3 separate regions of the Homo sapiens genome follow, and regions 1 and 3 are each linked to region 2. The links are contacts of gene promoters, found by promoter capture Hi-C in blood cells and fetal thymus (Javierre and others, 2016). All regions are on one chromosome and are shown on one strand. The core of a region is centred on a gene start or on the middle of the fragment in contact, and the rest is flanking DNA. Distances in the headings are between cores, read along the strand shown.

The links. Contacts are between HindIII fragments. The CHiCAGO score rates a contact against its expected background, and 5 or more counts as called.
Region 1: the fragment with the promoter of ZNF530 here is called in contact with the fragment with the promoter of ZNF567 in region 2 in 1 of 17 cell types (non-activated CD4 T cells); the score reaches 7.7 in non-activated CD4 T cells.
Region 3: a fragment that was not itself captured here is called in contact with the fragment with the promoter of ZNF567 in region 2 in 2 of 17 cell types (non-activated CD4 T cells and activated CD4 T cells); the score reaches 11.2 in non-activated CD4 T cells.

What each region holds. Positions count from the first base shown.
Region 1 is chr19:57,598,354-57,601,432 of GRCh38, reverse strand. It overlaps ZNF530 (zinc finger protein 530), which reads right to left and starts at 1,548. Exons shown (of 4, transcript NM_001321981.2): 1 at 1,299-1,548; 2 at 654-705. RefSeq lists enhancers at 1,081-1,200, 1,291-1,500. The HindIII fragment of the contact is 5,329 bases long and covers 1-3,079 here.
Region 2 is chr19:36,686,182-36,689,338 of GRCh38, reverse strand. ZNF567 (zinc finger protein 567) reads right to left here and starts at 1,727. Exons shown (of 6, transcript NM_001322917.1): 1 at 1,705-1,727. It overlaps ZNF567-DT (ZNF567 divergent transcript), which reads left to right and starts at 1,890. Exons shown (of 4, transcript NR_110708.1): 1 at 1,890-2,071; 2 at 2,533-2,653. RefSeq lists enhancers at 671-1,310, 1,871-1,920 and a silencer at 1,611-1,670. The HindIII fragment of the contact is 4,431 bases long and covers 1-2,246 here.
Region 3 is chr19:57,578,739-57,581,742 of GRCh38, reverse strand. It overlaps ZNF416 (zinc finger protein 416), which reads left to right and starts at 2,832. Exons shown (of 4, transcript NM_017879.3): 1 at 2,832-3,004. RefSeq lists a silencer at 2,923-3,004. The HindIII fragment of the contact is 1,043 bases long and covers 921-1,963 here.

The sequences.
Region 1 (3,079 bases), core at 299-2,798, about 21 Mb before region 2:
TCCAGCTACTAAACTCAAAAAGCCTTGAGTCACCCCTTCTTATCTCTCAGTCCCAATACCAGAAAATCAGAGCCGACCTACAATCCAAAATTCAACCATTTCTGCCACACTGTGGCCACTACTCTGGCCCACATCATCTACACTCACCTGGACTATTGCAGTAGTCTCCTCTTTCCTCTTTGGTATTGCTACCAACTCCCTTAAACCCACAGTCTGTTGTCTGTGCTCAGCCACAGGAGCCTCATGAGGCCTGGGGAAGATCACCTCCCTCTTCTGCTCCAAATCTTCATTGCTGCCATCATCTCCAGAACAAAGACATCTGAGACAGCCATTTAGTTTCTAACTCCTGTACCTCTGCTCTCTGTTCCCATGAGAAGGAAATGAGACTTGAGGTTCTCTTAACCAGCTCAGCCTCACCTCCAAGCAGCTCCAAACACCTGTACTTATCTCTGGGACAAACTTCCACATTCATCCTATTATTTGCCAGCAACAGGCACCACCTCATATAATACTCACCCTGGACATATTTTTGTTCAGAGTCCCTAGGCTCAAGGCCTGGAAAAGCGGTAAGTAAAGAATCCCAGGTCACCACAGTCCCAATCCTAGAGATCCCATTGCTGGAATCAATGAGCTTCTGGATTTCCTCCACTTACCCTTGTAGGGTCTTCAAGTGCTTCTTACGGACCTGTAAGTACTAGTGGCAATCTGTGGGAGGAAACATGTTCTGAGAGGCAGGTGACCAAAGTGTGGCTCCATGGACTTCTGGTTCCAATGTGGAACACCAGAGCCAGGTGTCCAGGGATGACTGCTTTGTATCTGGGTGTCAGTCCTTGGTGCTGACTTTTACCAGCTTTGTGACCTCGTAAAAAGACTAGGTCCCTCCATGCCTGCTATCATCACTGCCCTTCCAGCGCGTTCCTCTGAACAGCTTTTGTGAAACTTTTAGAAGCGTGACTGGGGCCGTGCCCCTCTTCTGTCCTACGCGCTGTGGCCCTCAGTGTGCTGGTGAAACTCAGTGGGGCCAATGCAGCGCGGCGCTGCCCCACCCTCTGCTACCTGCACGCGTGAGGCCGGCCTGGGTCTCCCCAGCCTCCCGGCTCAGGCGCAGCTCCAAGCTGTTGCCCGCGCAGCCCCCTGACCGTGTCGCTCTCCCGCTCCCTGCCACACTACCAGAAACGAGATCCAGCACCAGCGCCTCACTGTGCCGGACAGTGCGGTCCGGGCTGCAGAAAACCCTTCACGCGTCCCTCAGTTTCGGGTGGGGAGGGCAGAGGAGGCCGGGAGGACGCAGCGCTCACCTGGGTCGGGGCCCTCAGTGCCGCCGCCATCGGACTCTGGGCGGAGCGGGCCGGGAGCGGTGGACGATCCGGGCGGAGACAAGAGCAAAGCTGTCACCACCGCCGGCGACCGTCAGGCCCCGGCTGTGCAGCTGAGAAAACGACTCTCCTCGCGCCTTCTCGCTGTCAGCACCTAGGTCCAGATCCGGCACCCGCGGATGGAACTGACACAAGCCAAAGTGCCCGCCACAGGGAGGACGCCGGAAGTTCCGCTCCGACAAGTTGGACAGAGCGGAAATGTCCCTCCCCTGAGCCTCATTGGCTCCACGCCAAGAACCTGGCTCACGGGCCTCTGGGTAATGTAGTTCTCACCGCTTCTTGGGCTGGCAGAGGTCGCCCTTCTCCTGGACCTCAGGGAGGAATGACCCCGTTGCTATGGAGAAAGGTGGAGGGGAAGGCTGAGAGGTGGTGTCTCCAGCCTCCTTGGACAAGGGAGGAGCTTCGCTGCTTTTTTAAGGTACCATACAGAGATTTTTGGAGGGTATTGTGTACAACTAGTCACCTAGGTAGTCAGAGTTATTCAGATACAAAATGCCTCTACCCTTGGCGAGAGCCTAGTAAACATTACCTTCTTTCTCCACACATTTATGTAAAGTAGAACGTTAGAGTCAGCTTTGTGAGTTTCATTATGCTCAGTAAGGAATAAGGGAAATAGAGTTTACATAGCGCCATGACAGGAATGATAAAACATCCGTTAGATCGCACCGAAGCTGGAGGACGAAAGAGGAATTTTGTCTCACAGAAAATGCCTCTCCTGCCTGTGTAATCGGTGAGTGTGTCTAGCCCTGTAAGGAACAGTGTTGTATTCATATAATATTTCTTCCTCCATATTCTTAGATATGCTTCTTTTAGGATTGTAGCAACTTTCTAAACAGAAGAGCCACTTAGCATATGCCATTTTAAAGTAGAACAGTGTCTGTAGTGTTCACAGTCAGAGCACTTGTGCAAAGGGGACATCAGAATACCAGAATAAAGGTTTGGGACACCTAGCTTTCATCTCTTTGATGGGAAATTTTGATCATTGATACTGTTACTGCAGGGACAGTGCTTGCATGGGGAGTTGAGATCATCTTAGAAAAACAGTTGTGAAATGAAAATTACTGAAACCTATTGTATTAGTCAGGATTCTCCAGAGAAACACAGAACCAATAGGATACATAGATGTACAAGAGGGGATTTATTATGGGACTTGGCTCATCCAGTTATGGAGGCTAAGAAGTCCCAGGATATACCTTTTGCAACCTGGTAAGACACGAAGGTGGGTGGTATCATTCAGTCTGCATCTGAAGGCCTGAAAACCAAGGGAGCCTATGGTGAAATTCCCAGTTGGAGGCTGAAGGCCTGAGAACTGGGTGAGGGTCATTCTTGTATGTTCCAGAGTCCAAAGGCCCAAGATCCAAGAACTTTAATGTTGGAAAACAGAAGGTGGATGATCCAGGGCAAGAAGAGAGTAACTTGCTCTTTCTCTGCCTTTTTGTTCTATCTTGGCTCTCAAAGCATTGGATGTTGGCCCCTAACACTGATGAGGCCAGATCTCCTTTACATTGTCTACAGACTCAACTGCTAATATCTTCCATAAACATTCTCACAGACATATCCTGTACTAAGGTTTTCCCAACTATTTGGGTAGCCCTTAATGCAGGCAAGTCGACACAAAACATTATACGTCACAACTATTAATAATCTTGTGGCTAGGCCAAGCGCGGTGGCTCATGCCTGTAATCCCAGCACTTTAGGAGGCC
Region 2 (3,157 bases), core at 478-2,977:
ATGTATCCTTTCACATTTCAGGCTTCCAGCAGAAGAAATTCATCCAGCAAAAAAAAAAATAAATACACACACACACACACACACACACACACACACACACACTCTCAAATAGGAATTTTGAGAGTGGCAGTTATGAGATAAAGTTTTTTTCTGTGTGGTCCCAGTGGTATTCTATTCATTTAAGCATATCAGTCATCAGTCAATACCAGGTTTCCCAATAAATGATCTTTTTTGGAAGGGAAGGGACGGAGTCTCGTTCTGTCGCCCAGGCTGGAGTGCAGTGGCGCGATCTTGGCTCACTGCAACTTCCACCTCCGAGTTCAAGCGATTCCCCTGCCTCAGCTCCCGAGTAGCTGGGGCTACAGGCATGCGCCATCATGCCCAGCTAATTTTTATATTTTTTAGTAGAGACGGGGTTTCACCATGCTGGTCAAACTCCTGACCTCAGGTGATCTGTCCGCCCCAGCCTCCCAAAGTGCTGGGATTGCAGGCGTGAGCCACCGCGCATGGGCCCAATCTTTTTTTTTTTTTTGAGACGGAGTCTTGCTCTGCCACCCAGGCTGGATTGCAGTGGCACGATCTCGGCTCACTGCAAGCTCCGCCTCCCGGGTTCACGCCATTCTCCTGACTCAGCCTCCCAAGTAGCTGGGACTACAGGCGCCCGCCACCACGCCCGGTTAATTTTTTGTATTTTTAGTAGAGACGGGGTTTCACCATGTTAACCAGGATGTTCTCGATCTCCTGACGTCGTGATCGGCCCGCCTCAGCCTTCCAAAGTGCTGGGATTACAGGCGTGAGCCACCGCGCCCGGCCCGCATGGGCCCAATCTTACCCTCTGAAAATTATTTTGCCTCTTCCTCTCCATTAAAAAAAAAAAATCACTACTTATTTTACTTGTCTAATTACCAGAGTCAAATTCTACAGGCATATATAAAATGCCCAATACTCATAAATCAATCTAAACAATGCATACTTTAGTCAACACTCGGTTTCTCAAGCACTCCACCTAAGTCACACAGTGTGCCACATTCACAGTCATCATAGGTCGTGTACACCAAATACTTTTAAAATTAGGCATATTCATAGCTGTATCACCCACTACATAGTCATAATCCCATAGGCCCCCACGTCGTGCACAATTTCACAGAACTTCTACAAAAAGTAACAACCTTTCACTCACAATGCCCTCACTGTCGCCTCTCCAGAGTCGGACACAGGCTCAAACACAAATCGACTCGCATCTAATTTAAATTAAAACTTAAGACACGCAGGGACCCTATCACTTTCATAAACAACCGGTTCCACAACGTCACACAGAATAACACATTCCCCTACCACAACACACAGGACAGGTACGAAAAGCCACACACACACACACGGAGCGCCTGTTGTGTGCCAGGCCGTGCTCCAGGAGCCAGGGGACGAAAATCAGACGAAATTCCTGCCACTGGGGAGCTCACCCCCCGCCTCGGGCAACCGGTTCCCTTCTTCAGGTGCTCCCGGGCCCGCGCTCTGGTTCCTGCTTCCCTCCCAGCCTTCTCTGAGGCCCGGACTCGCACTTTCCTCCAGCCAACTCCTCGTCCCAGGTTGCTCCTCTTCCCTTCTTGCTTTCCCCAGCCCAGGCTCCCGCCTCCCTCCTCAGCCTTCCTTACGGGTCACACCGTCACCCGCCTTCTCCGCGCCCGCGGGACCCACCAGCCTCACCTTCGGTTGCCGGCCGGGCGTCTGCGCATGCGCACTCCCACGCGGACGATGCCTCCCAGGTGTCTCCGCGGCGCGTTCCTGCTGTCCACCGGCTACGCGCGCCTTCTCCACATCCGGGCGTTTCCGGCCTTGGACTACATTTCCCACAGGCGCCCGGGCGGTTTTCGAACTTTGATCTCTGGTTCCCCTTCCAAATTCTCATAGTGCGTGGCTGGGATGAGGGCGGCGCTCACGGTGAGGAAGCCCCGAGCTCCCGGGACGCAGACAGGGTGTGCAGGGCCGTAGCTCGGGCCTGTGTATGCACCTGTGCGTGTGTGTTTGATGCCAGGACAAGGCGGCGGTGTGCGCGGCGAGGAGGCTGCGACAGGTGCGTGATTGTGTTCCTGTCCCTGCTCGGATGCGGGACCTTTGGGTGGCCGTGGTCGGCTGTCGGGTGTGTGACACTGTAGGGTTTGAGACCTTCCATCATGACAGTGCTGCTGTGGCCGTGTGATGGAAGAGCCTTTTAGGTCTGTGGTGTTGTGTGTGTAACGGGTAAAGCTTCATTTCTGCAGTGCTGTGTTTAATGTTGGGACTGAGGGGTCTGTCGAAGATCTCCCCAATGTGCCTGTGAGGACTATGATCCATGCCTATGTTAAGCAGAGTCATCTTGCAATGAAGCATGGCCCGCGTTGTCTTCTCAGGGCACACCTGTCCCCAGTTCTCAGCCTGGTGTTTGACACAGGGGATCCTGGCGGAGTGCCCACCTAAGCGGCAGTTTTAGACTCGATTGTTTCTTGGGCTCTGCATCTCTGAGTTCCCAGCTTCCTTTTTTCTCCCGCTTTATAGCTGTATAGACCCCAGCTGCAGTGAAATGGCCATCAAAAAGGGAAGGGATAATCGAGTGGTGGAATAAAATCTGCAAACAGAAAAAGGACAGACCTGTTTTCGGAACGAGGCTTTTCGAGTTGTAAGTGTCCCTTAAGCAGAGTTCTGGGAAGACGTCGTGGGGAGAACCTAGGAGTAGGATTCCTTCCTCAGAGGCTCTCCCTTGGGAACTCTCAGAGGTCAGGTTCCATGTGATCCACATCATTCCCAGAGCTGTCTCCGCAGGAGACTTAACGTGAATTTTGAGAAAGTCCCCAGTCCTGGATATCAGTGACCCTGGCCTTTCCCTTGAATACTAAGAAGGGTTAGCAGTACTCCCATCTCCCTTTTACTTCCATCTGAGTATGTTTATGGTAGATGATGAGAGCTCGTGTGGTGGCAATAATTTTTTCCAATTTAGCCAATCTGGGTTCCAAGAAAGGTCTGATGTCTCATGATTCCTTACCCCTTCTCCCTTGCCTTGAGGTTCTCTAAGAGCCCTGAGGAAAGGGAACCATTGCTGAGCATATCTGAAAACCAAGGTCAAGGAAGTTTTGTTGTATTTTCTATTTTTGTTCTCTTTGATTTTGTTTTTCAGCAAGGGAGT
Region 3 (3,004 bases), core at 193-2,692, about 21 Mb before region 2:
TTTGTCTATTTGGCACAGCTATTCAAGTATAGCTTGGCAGCGTCATTCATATAGTCCACTAACTTCGATTACTGTTCACCCAGTTAATCCCAAGGGATTCCGCAGGTGTGGGGAGTGTTGACCTCAAGGACCATGACATCTAGCAAGGGACTGAAGATAGTGGAGGCCAGCTCCATCTGCAGGTAGAACATTCCAGAGGGCCCAGGTTTAGCTCCATCCTGTCTTTATTTTTTTGATTTCTTATCTTTAGTCTTTAGGGGTACATAGTAGGTGTATATATTTATGAGTTATATGGTGTAGTTTGATACAGGCACACAGTGTGTAATAATCACATTGGGATAAATGGTATTCATCACCTCAAGCATTTATCATTTCTTTGTGTTATAAGCATTCCAGTTATACTCTTAGTCACGTTTAATTCTTTTTTTTTTTTTTTTTTTTTGAGACGAAGTCTTGCTCTGTTGCCCAGGCTGGAGTGCAGTGGCGCGATCTCAGCTCTCTGCAAGCAACGCCTCCCGGGTTAACGCCATTCTCCTGCCTCAGCCTCCTTAGTAGCTGGGACTACAGGTGACCACCACCACGCCCGGCTAATTTTTTGTATTTTTAGAGATTTATTATAGAGATTTGATTTTAGAGATGGGGTTTCACCGTGTTAGTCAGGATGGTCTCGATCTCCTGACCTTGTGATCTGCCCGCCTCGGCCTCCCAAAGTGCTGGGATTACAGGCGTGAGCCACCATGCCCGGTGAGTTATGTTTAATTCTACAATAGATTGTTGTTGACTGTAGTCACCTTGTTGTGCTATCAAATACTATGTCTTATTCCTTCTATCTGACTATATTTTTGCACCCATTAACTATCCCCACTTTCCCTTCCATTTCTGCTATCCTTCTCAGCCTCTGGTAGCCATCCTTCTAAGCTTAATCTCCGGGAGTTCAATTGTTTAAATTTTTAGCTCCCACAAATAAGTGAGAACATGTGAAGTTTGTCTTTCTGTGCCTGGCTTATTTTACTTAACATAATTTCCTCCAATTTCACCCGTCTTCTTGCAATTGATGGGATCTCATTCTTTTTTTATGGCTAAATACTACTCCATTGTGTATATGCATCACATTTTCTTTATCCATTTATCTATGGACAGTTAGGTAGCTTCCAAATCTTGGCTGTTGTGAATAGTGATGCAATAAACATGGGAGTGCAGATCTCTATTAGATATACTGATTTCTTTTCTGGGTGGTGTAAACTGTATCATATGGTAATTCTATTTTTACTTCTGTGGGGAACCTCCAAACTGTTCCCCATAGTGGCTTTACTAATTTACACTCCCACCAACAGCGTATGAAGTTTCCCTTTCCTCTCTGTCCTGGCCAGCATTCATTATTCCCTGTCTTTTGCATAAAAGTCATTTTAACTAGAGTGAGATGATATCTCATTGTAGTTTTGATTTGCATTTTTATAGTGATCAATGATGTTAAGCATGTTTTCATCTACCTGCTTGCCATTTATCTGTCTTTTAAAATTTTTAGTTTTATGAGTACATAGTATGTATGTATATTTATGGGATACGTGAGATATTGTGATACAGGCATACAATGTGTAATAATCATATCAGGGTACACAAGCATTTATCATTTCTTTGTGTTACAAACATTCTAGTTATAATACTCTTTTAGTTGTTTTTAATGTACAATAAATTACTGTTGACTGTAGTCTCTCTACTGTGCTATCAAATACTAGATCTTATTCATTCTACCCTGTCTTAAGGAGGCCTTGGTAGCCATGCTGAGGTTATGGGGTGCTGCTTCCAAAACCAAAAGTATTATGGGCAGCTGGTATGAAGGATCATAGGCTTATGGTCTGTGAGATCCTGTATGTTTAAGAAAGCCCAGTCTTATTGCCAGTAATTACTGTTTTAATGGTGTATAGCATGAGGCTGAAAGAGACAGTTTCCTGCATTGGAAGCTTTTACTCAACAAATGGCCGTTGTATGTGGTTCAGAGATTCCAAGAGGCATGAGAAGTGTAAACCAAAAATAAAATTCCCAGCCCCCCAACCATCTGAATGCATCCTTCCTCTTGGCCAAGGGCATTCCAAAGTTAATCTGAAAAACTAGTTCAGGACGTGATGGGAAGTGAGGGTCAGACTTGCCCTCCTCCCCTTGGAATTCAGGCACAACTGACCAGCATTAACATTAAAACAGAGATTTTAAGACTTCTTGTAGCAATAAGACAGTGAATTCCAGCCTGATTGTAGTATAGCATTACATGACAGATAGCAGGCCCTGAAAGGAATTGAAGTATTTTACTCTAAACTTTATTTATTTGACATATTTTGAAGAGGCCCTGCAAAGGTGTGTCTTGTGGAATCTGCATTTTGCTGAGAATCCCCTTTCCTCTCCAGGGTTTTTTTATTTTCATGGTCCAGGAAAGAATTAAGAGTCTGGCACCTTTCAAAGTCTGATAGGAAACATTTACAATCTATTCCCTCTGAAGCCTGCTGCGTGAAAGCTTCATCTGCTTAATAAGAACCTTGGTCTCTACAACCTCTTATCTTAACCCAGACACTCCCTTCAGTGGGTATGGGACTGCGGAAATCGGCCAGCGGCCCCTTTAAGGAGCAGCAAGTCCCTGTCTCGCTCTTGGTGTCGCGCCTTTTCCTAGCGCCCTCCGCGGGCCGCTTAGCCCTTGTTCCGGGTGAATCTCAGGGAGGGCACCGGAACCCTGGGCTTCTGAGAACTACATTACCCATAATGCCGAGCGCCAAGCTGCAAAGACGCGGAGCCAATCAACGTTCAGGAACGGACCTGTCTCCGTTTGTTGCATACGGTAAGGCGGGACTTCCGGCACCGCTCCGAGATGGTAATTTTGGTGGTTCTCTACCTCGGCCCACGCCGCCTGAGTTAGAAACGCTGCCTCCGGCACAGAGCGGGGGTCGCCCCGCTGCGCATCAGCCGGTGGGTCGCTGGCGCTGGTGGCAGCCGTGCCTGGGTTCCCGCCCCGGGTCGC